2 separate regions of the Homo sapiens genome follow, and region 1 is linked to region 2. The links are contacts of gene promoters, found by promoter capture Hi-C in human tissues and cell types (Jung and others, 2019). All regions are on one chromosome and are shown on one strand. Each heading gives the region's core, a stretch centred on a gene start or on the middle of the fragment in contact. The rest is flanking DNA. Distances are from core to core; before and after follow the strand shown. Region 1 holds the start of AGFG2 (ArfGAP with FG repeats 2). Region 2 has its middle 5.6 kb from the start of EPO.

Evidence for each region. The method cuts DNA at HindIII sites, captures the fragments that hold promoters and counts their contacts. A contact is called where the count stands out against the background at its distance.
Region 1: a contact is called between the fragment with the promoter of AGFG2 here and a fragment that was not itself captured in region 2, in 1 of the 25 tissues and cell types used here (spleen).

What each region holds. Positions count from the first base shown.
Region 1 is chr7:100,536,399-100,543,208 of GRCh38, forward strand. It overlaps AGFG2 (ArfGAP with FG repeats 2), which reads left to right and starts at 2,805. Exons shown (of 12, transcript NM_006076.5): 1 at 2,805-3,169. The coding sequence starts at 2,949. RefSeq lists an enhancer at 2,155-2,656 and silencers at 2,536-2,815, 2,866-3,165, 5,720-5,809. The HindIII fragment of the contact is 17,077 bases long and covers 1-6,810 here.
Region 2 is chr7:100,711,328-100,718,425 of GRCh38, forward strand. No RefSeq gene overlaps it. Among named protein-coding and RNA genes, the nearest start is that of EPO, 5.6 kb to the right of the region's middle. The HindIII fragment of the contact is 5,689 bases long and covers 753-6,441 here.

The sequences.
Region 1 (6,810 bases), core at 1,555-4,054, 180 kb before region 2:
CATAAGCCACCACGCCCAGCCCATTTTAATTTAATTTAAACTTAAATAGCCACATATGATTAGTGGCTGCCGTATTGAAGAGAGTAGCTCTAGATTTTTGCTTTGGGCAACTAGGTGGCTCATGGTGCCATTAATTGAAAAATGGGGCCGGGTGCGGTGGCTCACACCTATAATCCCAGCACTTTGAGAGGCCAAAGCGGGCAGATGACCTGAACTCAGGTGTTCGAGACCAGCCTGGCCAACATGCTAAAAATACAAAAAATTAGCTGGGCATGGTGGCATGCACCTGTAGTCCCAGCTACTCGGGAGGCTGAGGTGGGAGGAGCACTCAAGCCCCAGGAAGTGGAGGTTGCAGTGAGCCAAGATTGTGCCACTGCACTCCAGCCTGGGTGACAGAGTAAGACCCTGTCTCAAAAAGAAAAAAACAAGAGAGAGAGAGAGAAAGCAGGCTGCCAGCCACCAGCCTGGACAACATAGTGAGACCCCTTCTCTACAAAAAATCAAAAATTAGCCAGGCATGGTGGTGTGCGCCTGTAGTCTCAGCTACCCTGGAGACTGAGGTGGGAGGATCACTTGAACTGGGGAGGTTGAGGCTGCAGTGAGGTATGATTGTGCCACTGCCCTCCAACCTGGGCAGCAGAGCAAGACCTTGTCTCAAAAAAAAAAAAAAAAACAAAAAAAACAAAACAAAACAAAAAGAGGCCGGGTGCGGTGACTCACGTCTGTAATCCTAGCACTTTGGGAGGCCAAGGTGGGTGGATCATTTGAAGTCAGGACTTCAAGACCAGCCTGGCCAATATGGTGAAACCCCATCTCTACTAAAAATACAAAAATTAGCTGGACATGGTGGCACGCACCTGTAATCCCAACTACTTGGGAGGCTGAGGCAGGAGAATCGCTTGAACCTGGGAGATGGAGGCTGAGGTGGGCGGATCACTTGAGCCCAGGAGGTCCAGACCAGCCTGGGCAATATAGTGAGACCCAATCTCTACAAAAAATTTTTAAAAATTCGCCAGGCATGGTGGTGCACAGCTGTACTCCCAGCTACTTGGAAGGCTGAGGTGGAAGGATCACTTGAGTCCAGAAGGTTGAGGCTGCAGTGAGCCATGATTGTGTCACTGCACTCCAGCCTGGGTGATAAAGCGAGACCCTGTCTCAAAAAAAAAGTAATTGTTTTAAAAATGGTGACCAACCCAATCTGAAGTACCCAACAGGTGGCCAGGCATTGTGGCTCATGCTTGTAATCCCAGCACTTTGGGACGCCAAGGCGGGAGGCTCACTTGAGGCCATGAGTTTGAGACCAGCCTGGCCAACATGGTGAAATCCTGTCTCTACTAAAAATACAAAAATTGGCCGGGCGCGGTGGCTCACGCCTGTAATCCCAGCACTTTGGGAGGCCAAGACCGGCGGATCACGAGGTCAGAAGATCGAGACCATCCTTGCTAACACGGTGAAACCCCGTCTCCACTGAAAATACAAAAAAATTAGCCAGGCGTGGTGGCGGGTGCCTGTAGTCCCAGCTACTCGGGAGGCTGAGGCAGGAGAATGGCGTGAACCCAGAAGGCGAAGCTTGCAGTGAGCCGAGATCGTGCCACTGCACTCCAGCCTGGGCGACAGAGCGAGACTCCATCTCAAATAATAATAATCATAATAATAAAAATACAAAAATTATCTGGGGGTGGTGGTGGCCGCCTGTAATCCCAGCTACTCAGGAGACTGAGGCATGAGAATTGCTTAAACCCAGGAGGCAGAGGTTGCAGTGAGCTGACATCGTGCCACTGCACTCCAGTCTGGGCAACAGAGTGAGACTCCATCTCAAAAAATTAAAATTAAATTAAAAAATTAAAAAAGTACCCAAAAAGTCTTTTCCAAGATGTGATTTTAATTCTCTGCGTAGGATTTATTACTAACTGGTGATTCTTTAATTTGTGTATTGTTTGCTTCCCCCTACTAGAAACTAAGCTCTATAAGAATATTTTGTTTGATTGCTTCGCTGCTGTATTCTATTCCCAGTGTCTAGAACGTGCCTGAAACCTAGCAGACACTCAGTGTTTGTTAAATGAATAATCGAATAATAGTCCACCTACTAGGAGGGTTAAAGGCAGGGTTTCTAAAGTTGGAAGACCCAGAGTGGAATCCTGGGCCACGCACTCGTGTGATCTGCCGCAAGTTGTTGAACCTAAGGGTGTAAAATGGGGATTCCACCTCTGGGATAGGCGGAGCGAATGAAATGACATTTATAAAGCACTCCCTTCGCTCTGTGGCTCAGGAATTAGAGCACTGGTCTAGTAAAGCACTCTTGCTCCCTCTCCCTCTCTCCCTTAAGCGCTCTCTTCTTTCCCCCTCCTGCTCAGCCCCTCACATGGCCACTTCTCTTCGGCTTTGCATGACACTCTACACAGTCTAGAGTAAGCCTTTGAAATTTGCCGGGAATTAACGTCATCAGTCGGGAGGACGACAGCTACGCACGCGCGGGGCACCTCCTCTGTCTCGCGCGCTAACTTTGCAGCCCCGCCAGCCAATCAAAATTAGCGTCGGAGCCCGAGTGCCGAGGACTCACCAATCGGAACTAGGAGGCGGGCCACGGTGGAGGCAGCGGCGAGAGGGGGCGGGGACAAGGAGAGGGCACGCACGGTTCTCGCTGCTGGGGTCTCTGCCGGCCAATAGGAGAGGCCTGAGGCCTGAAGGCGGTGGGGCGGGGCATTGGCGGCTCCAGCAACCGGAGGCCGTCCCAGGGAGGGCCAATCGGAGTAAGGAGGTGGGAGAAACCTAGCCAATCAGTGTGCAGGACGGGCAAGGAGGGTGGTGGACGGCGAAGTCTCCTGCGGATGCCGCCCGCTCCCGAGCTTCTGTCAGGGGAGCCGGGCGTGCGGAGGCGGCTGAGGAGGCGGGAAGGCGGCAGTGGTTGAAGGGGTGATTGCTGACTAGCGGGGAGGGAGTGGGCAGCGATGGTGATGGCGGCGAAGAAGGGCCCGGGCCCGGGCGGCGGGGTCAGCGGGGGCAAGGCGGAGGCGGAGGCGGCCTCGGAGGTGTGGTGCCGTCGGGTGCGGGAGCTGGGTGGCTGCAGCCAGGCCGGGAACCGCCACTGCTTCGAGTGCGCCCAGCGCGGGGTCACCTACGTGGATATCACCGTGGGCAGCTTCGTGTGCACCACCTGCTCCGGCCTCCTGTGAGTGACCGGGAGGGAGTGGCCGAGGTCGGCGTGGGGGGACCCGGGGGCGGGGTGGGGAGGCCGGGGCTCCGGGGCGCGAGGGAAGGGGGCCGAGGTGAGGGGCGGAGGGGAGGTCAGGGAACGCGCCGGCTGTGGGGACGGGGTCGTCTGCTGCAGCGGTGTGGTGGGGAGGGGAAAGGGCAGGGGAGAGGAAGCAAGGCCGGAGTCGCTCTGCGGAGAGAAGGGTACGGGTGCAGAAAGACGCCCGGAGAGGGACCGAGAAACTCCCCGAGGGGGTCGAGGCAAACTGCAAGTGGGGAGGGAGAAAGTGCGGAGGATGGAAGGGAACTCGGAGTGGGATGGGGTGTCGGGACTTAAAGGGCCAGAAAATGACATGCACCTTTAGAGGGAACTTCATGCAGGTGGAAAGCAAAAAGGAAAAAGGTGGGGAAAGCCGGCCTGGAGATGGACGGGCACCTTTCTTCCTTCGGGCTTGTGTCCCTGCTGGAGTGTGAGATGCAGAAGCCAGCTGAAACTTGGTTGAAATTCCTATGATTAGAGTACAGGATTAAAAAAAAAAAAAAAAGCGAATTAACCCCGATTGACAGCCTAGAGATAGTGGCTGGAAGGGAGCCATGGTCCAGAGTTCAGGTGTAGATACTAATCTTAGCAGGGCTTTGAAATGTTACCCAGAAGGTAAAACTCTTACGAAATCTAAGAGATGAGAGCCAATGGGTTACCCTGGTAGAGAGCTTAGCTTTTTCAAACGTTTGCACGTCTAGGTGAGCCATCCTGAAGGTTAATCATTTACACCTTTAAGATCCCTGTTGCCATGACTGGATCCTGGTGGTAGCATCCAGGAAACTCTAGATTTTGGGGGGGCTTTGGTGCATCATCTGAGTGCTACTCTTGGCATTGGTACTGTTCGGTCATGCCAGAGTGAATTTACAGCCACAATTCTAGCCTAGATTTCTGGTTATATAGTAAAGCCCCCTCCACTCCCCTCTGCACTCCTCCTACTCCCAAATTAAGATATTATTTGGTTAGATGCATGATTAACATCTGATATCAGGCCTGGATCTCTGTTTTTTAATAAGTTTGTCAAGGGATTTATTTTGACAATTTTTTAGTCTTATTTTAAGACACTGTTGTTTTTGTTTTGTTTTTTAAAAAATGCTTTCCAGCCAGGCGCTGTGGCTCACGCCTGTAATCCTAGCACTTTGGGAGGCCGAGGCAGGCAGATCATGAGGTCAAGAGATCGAGACCATCCTGGCCAACATGGTGAAACCCCATCTCTACTAAAAATACAAAAATTACCTGGGTGTGGTGGCGCGCACCTGTACTCCCAGCTACTTGGGAGGCTGAGGCAGGAGAATCACTTGAACCCGGGAGGTGGAGGTTGCAGTGAGCTGAGATTGCGCCACTGCACTTCAGCCTGGCGACAGAGCAAGACACTGTCTCAAAAAAAAAAAAAAAAAAAAAAGCTTTCCCTGTCTTGATACCTTTAGGAGCCAGGGAGCGAGCACTATTGTTCTTGCAAGACAGATGGGAGAACAGAAGCAAAGAGAGGTTTCGTAACTTATCCAGTGCCATATGGGCATTGCGGTTTCCAACATTTGTTGTTTGATATTAGTGATGATCATGGCAGACCAGCAATGAGGATTTAGTTTTCTCAAGATACCGTTTGGAATTATTTACTTCGTTTTAACCTCCTTTGCTAAACTTCTCTCTGGGTTCTGATCAACCTCACTTGTGGGTTGTAAGGATGAACTTGACTTTGGTCTAAGTAAAAGTCATCGTGGCTCTTGGGATAATGATTGAGAACCCAAACAGTAATGTGTCATAAACTGAGATGGACTGAAATGAAGCAAGAGGATAGAGACTCGAGAGTGGGTGAAGAACTCTGGGGAGAGATTGAGCAACGTTTAGGAGTATGTATAGGGGTCGGGCTCGGTGGCTCAGTATGTATAGGAGGCCAAGGTGAGCAGATCACTTGAGGTCAGGAGTTTCGAGACCAGCCTGGCCAACATGGCGAAATCTCATCTCTTACTAAAAATACAAAAATTAGCCAGGCATGGTGGCAGGTGCCTGTAATCCCAGCTACTTAGGAGGCTGAGGCAAGAGAATTGCTTGAACCCAAGAGGTGGAGGTTGCAATGAGCCGAGATCGCACCACTGCACTCTCCAGTCTGGGTCGCAGAGCGAGACTCTGTCTCACAAAAAAAAAAAAAAAAGGAGTATGTATAGGGTAAAGTAGAAAGAGAAAGAGCTGATTCCTGAAGATCCTGCTATGAGAAGCAGAAGGATGAAACTGATGGATAAAATTGAGTAACTGGGAAGTGCTGACATTGTTATCATTATTTTGTAGATCTTTGTTAAAGTGTCCCACAGATAACATTTCCCTTATAATACCCCTCAATCAGGACACAAAGAAAGCTAAGGTATCTGGGACACGTTAAAAACCTGGTTTCTTTTTTCTTTTTTTGAGATGGAGTCTCACTCTGTTGCTTAGGCTGGAGTGCAATGGCGCGATCTCGGCTCATTGCAACCCCTGCCTCCTGGGTTTAAGCAATTCTCTTGCCTCAGCCTCCTGAGTAGCTGAGACTACAGGCACGCGCTACCACATCTGGCTAATGTTTGTATTTTTAGTAGAGACGGGGTTTTGCCATGTTGGTCAGGCTGGTCTCGAACTCCTGATCTCAAGTGATCCGCCCGCCTCGCCTCCCAAAGTGCTGGGATTACAGGCGTGAGCCACGGCACCCAGCCTGCTTAGCTTTTTGGTAAAGCATTATGAGACTAAACCAGGGAGTGATTCTCACAGAGGAGGATTTAGAGAGCATATTTTGGTGTTTGGGAAATGAGAAGCTAGACCAACCCTTTGTTAGTAGGAAATGAGAGTGAAATGAAAGATCAAGAGGTTAGGCCAGTAAATGAAGCTGAATTGAAGGTATGTTGAGAGTGAGAAATTTCAGGAGAAACTCTGCAAGAAAGCTGGAGTTTCCCTATAATTAGCATGACAAGGGCAAGGCATATAATCCTTGTAAAGGGGTCTTAACACAGTATTACCTGTGTCCCTTTGATATGCTGTGGGAAGGAGTGGGAGCTGGCAGGTGGGCTGTAAGGCAGAATGTGAGGCAGGGGATGCTTATTTCTGGAGGCATGGCTCCATGGTGGCACGGAGACCAATTAGCATCTTAAATCCCCATGATTGATTACCTGTAGATTAGGGTTTGGTGTTGGTGGGAAGTGAAAATTGTGGTCGGCTGACAGCCTGCATGTTTATTCATTCGGTCAGTCAACACGAACTTATTCAGTGCCTATCAAGCGCCAGACACTGTTTTAGGTACTGGAGATACAGTAGTGATAAGTTCCCATTTTCACGGAGCTGACATCCTAGTGGAAGCCATGGACTATAAAGAAATCGTTCTGTATTGCTAAAAGCTATGAAGTAAAATGAAGCTCTGTGGGTTAGAGTGATACCAAACTGAGGTATGATGCAAAGAGAAGAAATATTATTATTAATTTTTTTTTTTGAGATGGAGTCTCGCTCTGTCGCCCAGGCTGGAGTGCAGTGGTCCGATCTTGGCTCACTGCAACCTCCACCTCCTGGTTTCAAGCGATTCTCCTGCCTCAGCCTCCCCAGGTAGCTGGGATTACATG
Region 2 (7,098 bases), core at 2,347-4,846:
TGTTGGCCAGGATGGTCTCGATCTCCTGACCTCGTGATCTGCCCGCCTACGGCCTCCCAAAGTGCTGGGATAACAGGCGTGAGCCACCGTACCTGGCTGGCTGCGGACATTTCTATCAGGCCACATCCTTTCCATCAGCCTGACTGCAAGGCTTCCTTGCCCGGGAGCCCCCCAGTAGCCGAGCGGGGAGCCGGCAGGAAGCTGGATGGAGCTGTGTCTCCCTGCACGTATGTGCTCCGGGCCTGAGCCCAGCAGAGGTGGTGGCAGGCAGCCTTTCCCATCTGGTTTGTTTTGGCAGTTCCCTCCTGCAGCCTATTTGTTTGTTGTTTCTACTCCATGTTTTCTCACTGCTTGCCAGTGGGGCTTCCCTCAGTGGCAGTTCTGCAGAAACAGACCTCCACATTGCCACTGAAGGAAGAGTGGGGCCTGGGGCTCACTCTTTTGTGTGTGGGGGGGCGTGAACCAGGCTCCTGCATCTACTAGAGTCCATGCAGGGCAGGTGGGGCAGGGAACCCTGCCTGCAGGCCCGACCGTAGGGAGGCTAGCTCCAGCCTCTGTTCTCCTCCCTCTACTGGCTCTCCAAAGTGACTTCCATCAAAGCTTGGGAGGCCAGAAACAGTGAGCCACGTCTCTTTGTAATCCCAGCACTTTGGGAGGCCCAGGCAGGCAGATCACCTGAGGTTAGGAGTTCAAGACCAGCCTGGCCAACATGGTGAAACCCCGTCTCTACTGAAAATACAAAATTAGCTGGGCGTGGTGGCAGGCGCCTGTAATCCCAGCTACTCAGGAGGCTGAGGCAGGAGAACTGCTTGAACCCGGGAGGTGGAGGTTGCAGTGCACCAAGATTGTGCCATTGCACTCCAGCCTGGGTGACAGAGGGAGACTCAGTCTCAAAAAGAAAAAAGCTTGAAAAACGGGAGAGGGGTGAGGAGATGGAGGCAGAAGGTGTGTGCAAATGCAATGCCCTGCCCTCCTTTTTACATTTTATTTATTTATTTATTTATTTTAGAGACAGGGTCTCACTCTGTAGCCTAGGCTGGAGTGCAATGGTACAATCATAGCTCACTGCAACCTCAAACTTCTAGGCTCAAGCAATCCTGCCTCAGCCTCCCAGGTAGTTAGGACTACAGGCAAAAAAAAAAAAAAAAGAGCTACTATTGTTTTCTTTGTTTGTTTATCTGTTTGTTTTGAGACGGAGTTGTGCTCTTGTTGCCCAGGCTGGAATGCAATGGCGTGATCTCAGCTCACTGCAACCTCCGCCTCCTGGATTCAACTGATTCTCCTGCCTCAGCCTCCTGAGTAGCTGGGATTACAGGCACGTTCCACCAAGCCCGGCTACTTTTTGTATTTTTAGTAGAGGCAGGGTTTCTCCGTGTTTGCCAGGCTGGTCTCGAACTCGTGACCTCAGGTGATCCGCCTGCCTCAGCCTCCCAAAGTTCTGAGATTACAGGCGTGAGCCACTGCGCCCGGCCAAGAGCTAGTATTGTTTAGTATGAAGCCATTTTGCTAAGAAATGGTTTTAGGCTTCTTAATAGGAATGGGGAGAAGTGAAGGAAGGCAATTTTGTGTGCGTTTAATTCTCAAGTCTGAGTTATTAGTAGAAACTAACAACTGAGCCAGACTCAGTTGTGGCTCGCATAGCAGGGAAGGGGACGGGACCTTGAAATATTAAGTGGTTTGATCAGGCTGATGATCCTGCTAGAGAAGCCCAGCACTTTGTCCCAGGTGAGTTTCTGGTGCTTGGTCAGGAGTTGAGGGAAAAATGGTGTTTCACAAACCCTCAAACCACTAGAGAGGTTGGACGAGAACGTGTCAATTGTAGTTCCTTAGGAAACAGATGTCCAATTGCACAGAGATTTGGGATGAGGCAAAGGTCATCCTACCAGAAGGAAGCCTGTGAAAATGGCCACTTAAGGTCCCAAGACCCTAATGACATTATGGGTGTTTTTCAGTTTATGTGTTTGAGTTTAGCGCTGTTTTCTAATTTTGGTCACGTATTGTTTTTGTAATGAGCAAAAGTTCATCATAAAAGTTGCTTTTTTTTTTTTTTTGAGACAGAGTCTGGCTCTGTCGCCCAGGCTGGAGTCCAGTGGCACAATCTTGGCTCACCGCAACCTCCGCCTCTCGAGTTCAAGTGATTCTTCTGCCTCAGCCTCCTGAGTAGCTGGGACTATAGGTGTGCGCCACCATGCCCAGCTAATTTTTGTATTTTTAGCAGAGATGGGGTTTCACCATATTGGCCAGGCTGGTCTTGAACTCCTGACCTCGTGATCCGCCCGTCTCAGCCCCCAAAGTGCTGGGATTACAGGCGTGAGCCACCGTGCCCGGCCTAAGTGAGCTCTTCTGCTCGTGTCTTAGTTCATCAACCAGCAAATAATTTTTCCCTTTTCAGGGAAGTATATTTGTCTAATAGCAAACAAGACTAATAGACTGAGTTGGAAGGAATCTAGCAGGTCCTGTGAAGGCGAAAGTCCACCCTCTGTTTGCATTCTTCAAGTGACAAGACGGTTGCCTTTTCTTAAGGGAGCAGAGGCTTGTTATAGAGGAGACAGCAAGCCATTCTCCTCTGCATCATCCATGTATCCACTGACCCATTCATTCATCAGATATTTATTAGTTAGTGGAACGGGCAATAAAATAACTTCTTGAGGTATCTCATCAGTTTTATTTTTACTTATTTAGAGATGGGTCTTGCTCAGTTCCCCAGGCTCGAGTGCAGTGGCATGATCATAGCTCACTGCAACCTCGACCTCCTAGGTTCAAATGATCATCCTTCCTCAGCCTCCCAAGTAGCTGTGACACCAGGCATGTGCCGCCATGCCTGGCTAACTTCTTTATTTTTTATATAAAAAATATAACTCTATAAAAAATAACTTCTTTATTTTTTATAGAGCCAGGGTCTCACTGTGTTGCCCCGGCTGGTCTTGAACTCCTGGCCTCAAATGATCACCTTAGCTTTCCAAAGTGCTGAAATTATAGGTGTGAGCCACCTCACCCGGCCCCTCATCAGTTTGATAACTAACTCCTTGATCACCTTACTTAGAGAACAAAGGATCAGTCAGGAATAGGCTTCATAAAACTTTGGTAGGCCAGGTGCGGTAAAGGATTTTCCTTTGAGGACTTTGGCAAAGGATTTTCCTTTGGTTCTCCAGCAGGAATCCCTTCTTCAGCATCTTTTTTTTTTTTTAAGAAAGGGTGTTGTTCTTTCGCCCAGGCTGGAGTGCAGTGGTGCGATCATAGCTAACTGCAGCTTCCAACTCCTGGGCTCAAGCAATCCTCCAACCTCAGCCTCCCGAGTAGCTGGGACTACAGGCATGTGCCAGCATGCCTAACAAATTTTCTGTAGAGACAGGGTCTCCCTATGTTGCCCAGACTGGTCTCAAACTCCTGGGCTCAAGGGATCCTCCCTCCTTAGCCTCCTAAAGTGCTGGGATTCCAGGCGTGAGCTACCGTGCCTGGCCCTCCAGCATTCTTGCTTCCTTCACAGTTCCCCAAAGGCCACCCAACAAGGTCCCCAGCCACCTCCCCTCCCAGCACAGAAGGTCTTCTGGGCCTCTGGCTGAACTCGAGCTGAGCTGAGAAGCCACTGCTTGGAAATGAGGAGGGAAAGAGAAGCCAGGAGGCCCCCCTTCCCAAGTCCGACTCCAGGCAGCTGGGGCTCCGTGCTGCCTGGGGGTCTGGGACAGCTCGGGGGGCTGTAAATTTGCTTCTGCTTGGATTTCCAATCTGAATCCACTGCCAGGAGGAATCCGTGGAGCAGAGCCTGCCTCCACACCCGCCATCCTCCTGTCACAACTGGCCCTTTTCAAACCCTGCCTCAGTGGCTGCCTGCTCAGGAAGTGCATGGAAGCTTCACACGCCCCAGGATCCCAGGGAGCTGGGTTGACCGGGGGATGGCTCAGTGCCCCCTCTAGGTTGGGTTCTTCTCTGAGCATGTAGTGGAGGGACCACATAATGCAATCCACACTTGGGTGGTTACCACAGAAAAGGGACATGCTGGACGCTTGGTAGACAGAAAAATGCATCAGAACTTCCATACGCAGCCCTTCGCTCTCTTCGATGACTAGGGCACCTGCACTACGTGACTCCAGACGGTACCATTCCCTTCAGAGTCTCTATGGATGCCCCTGGGAGTTGGGCAGTGCTCATCTTTGACGGCTGTCCATGGCGGTCCTGCCAGTGAGATGCCTAAGACATGTACATAAATGACGGCAGTGCCAGGGAAGGAGACGATTTCCTGCTGGGAGATCAAGAAAGGCTTCATGGAGGAGGCGATGCACAGATTTGGGCTTTAAAGAAAACGAGGAGATGGTGTGGGAGGGTAATCCAGGATGAGCCAAGGGCAGGAAGGCACAAACCATCTCCTGTGGTGGAGGGAGTGGGAGTGAGCAAAGCGGGAGAACAGCCTGGAACATGAAGTGAATGGTAGACCTTGGAGGGTCTCAGTTCTGAGGCAATAGGAAGCCGTGACAGGTTCCTGCTCAGGGAATTAGCACAAATGAGGCTGTTCAGTGGGAAAGTTAATTGAGCAGCAGGGTTAGGGATTAACTGGAGGGGTCAATGAGGAGATGCTCTGCAGTGGTCCTGGGCCTGTGGGTCAGCATCTGCTAGAAGATGAAGAGCAGGCAGATGACGGGGGTGGGGGGCACTGGGCAGGGGGATGGTGGGCATTGGTCGGGGAGCCCCATGGAGCTTCTTGTTTTCTTCCTGTTCCTCAAGGACAGATGAATGGACCCTGCATTGCTCAGTATCCAAGAGGCTCTGGGCTCCAAACCAGCCTCTCCCCTCTTAGCAGAATTACTATGGCTTCAAGCCGGGTGTGGTGGCTCACGCCTGTAATCCCAGCACTTTGGGAGGCCGAGGCGGGCGGATCACTTGAGGTTGGGAGTTCGAGACCAGCCTGGCCAACATGGCGAAACCCCATCTCTACTGAAAATACAAAAATTACCGGGCGTGGTGGCACATGCCTGTAATTCCAGCTACTCGGGAGGCTGAGGCAGGAGAATTGCTTGAACCCGGGAGGTGGAGGTTGCAGTGAGCTGAGATAATGGCACCACTGCACTCCAGCCTGGGCAATAGAGTGAGACTCCATCTCAAAAAGAGAATTACTATGGCTTCGGATTGGGTATGGGGTGGACCAAGATCCTCTCCTCCCTCCCAAGCTGCAATCACAGCTCTCTCTCCAGAAGCCCCAGGGGACAAGGCAGTCACTACTCCTATCCAGCAGGCTACAGCATTTAGAGGCTGGTGCCCCTGGCCCATCTCTCACTCCTCTTCAACTGCAGACAAGGATGCAGGGACCCCCGAGAAGCTGTGTGAGGGGAGGGGCAGGTCCCACAGCCCAAAAGGCTCCTCCTCCTCCAGCTGTGTCCACCCCACCCATCTGTCTCCGGCCCCCTCTCCATGGTTAGGTCAGGGCATTGACGCAGGAGTCAGGGTCCTGGGAGAGCAGAGGCTGGGGAAGGGGAGCAGCCAAGACAGAACGCACGTGCGGCCATGTGTGGATGTGAGTGTGATGGTGCACGTCCCAGGACTCTGGAAGGGATCAGAACCAGGAGCCGAGTGGGGCTGGGGGAGCCTGGACAGCAGTTTTGGGAAGGCTCAAGGTGAGCAGAGGATGCAGGGGAGCAGGGTCTGAGGGAATTAGGCCAGCCAGAAGCATACCAGCCTCTGTCTCCTGACCCCCACCCAACCATCTTGCCAAACCACTCATTTTTTCTTTTTTTTTTTTGAGACAGGGTCTCCCTTTGTTGCCCAGTCTAGAGTGCAGTGGCGTGATCATAGCTCACTGCAGCCTCAACCTCCCGGGCTCAAGAGATCCTCTGACCTCAGCCTCCTGAGTAGCTGGGACTACAGATGTGCACCACCATGCCCAGCTAGCTAAACAAAAATAAAAATTATAGACATGGGATCTCACTATGTTGCCCAGGCTGGTCTCAAACTCCTGGCCTCAAGCAATCCTCCTGCCTCAGCCTCCCAAAATGTTGGGATTACAGGTGTGAGCCACTACACTTGGCCCAAATCCCCCTCCCATCAAGCTCTTCACCTCACCACACCCTCATGGTCCCTCACCCCCAACAGGTCTTTATTCAAGTCAGTTTCTCAGCCTAGTGTCTCTGACTACCTTATTTTAGATAACCCTGCCTGTGCCTTTTCTCCTTAGTTCTGGCTATTTGAAATCCTCTATCTTTTCTTTTCTTTTCTTTCTTTTTTTTTTTTTTTTTTGAGACAGGGTCTCATTCTGTTGCCCAGGGTGGAGTGCAGTAGCAAAACCACAGCTCACTGCAGCCTCAACTTCCTGGGCTGAAGTGATCCTCCCACCTCAGCCTCCCAAGTAGCTGGGACTATAGGCACATGCCATCATGCCCAGCTAATTTTTGTATTTTTTTGTAAAGATGGGGTTTCACCATGTTGCCCAGGCTGGTCAAGCCAACTCCTGGGCTCAAGTGATCCTCTTGCCTTGGCCTCCCGAAGTGCTGGGATTACAGGCATGAGCCACCTCACCCAGCCAAAATCCTCTGTCTTGTACCCATTTTTGTGTTCATCATTGGCAACCCCACTAGAACATCAGCTCCACCAGGGCAGGCATTCCTGGCTGTATCATTCACTGCTCTATCCCCAGGTCCTTGGCCAGGGGTAGGTAGGAAATCCATAAATATCTTTTGAATGAATGAGTGAATGTTTCCCACTCTTTCCAAACAAAATCCAAATTCTTCAGAGAGGCATTCAAGGCCATAGACAGCCTGACTCCTCCCTAAGCAGCACCCTGGCCTCATCTTCCACCTCTCTCTTCTCCATCTTCCCTTCTGCTCACCTGTAGGGAGACCCCCTGAAACTACTGCTACGGAATAAAAGATGAAATGCTCCTGATTATTGTAAATACAAAATTGCATGCAGGATTGTGTACAAACAATGCCAGGTTGGACTGCCAGAATGAGCCAACAGCCTGTGATGTGCTTCCGCCTGCGGAGAGCCTATGAACGGACCTGCAGTCAGGGAGGTTTCACATCACCAAGATTTCTATCCCAGAAAAGCAGATGTTCATAGCTCTGGGAATGGAATGCGACCCTTGTGGAGAGCCTATAAACGGACGCATGG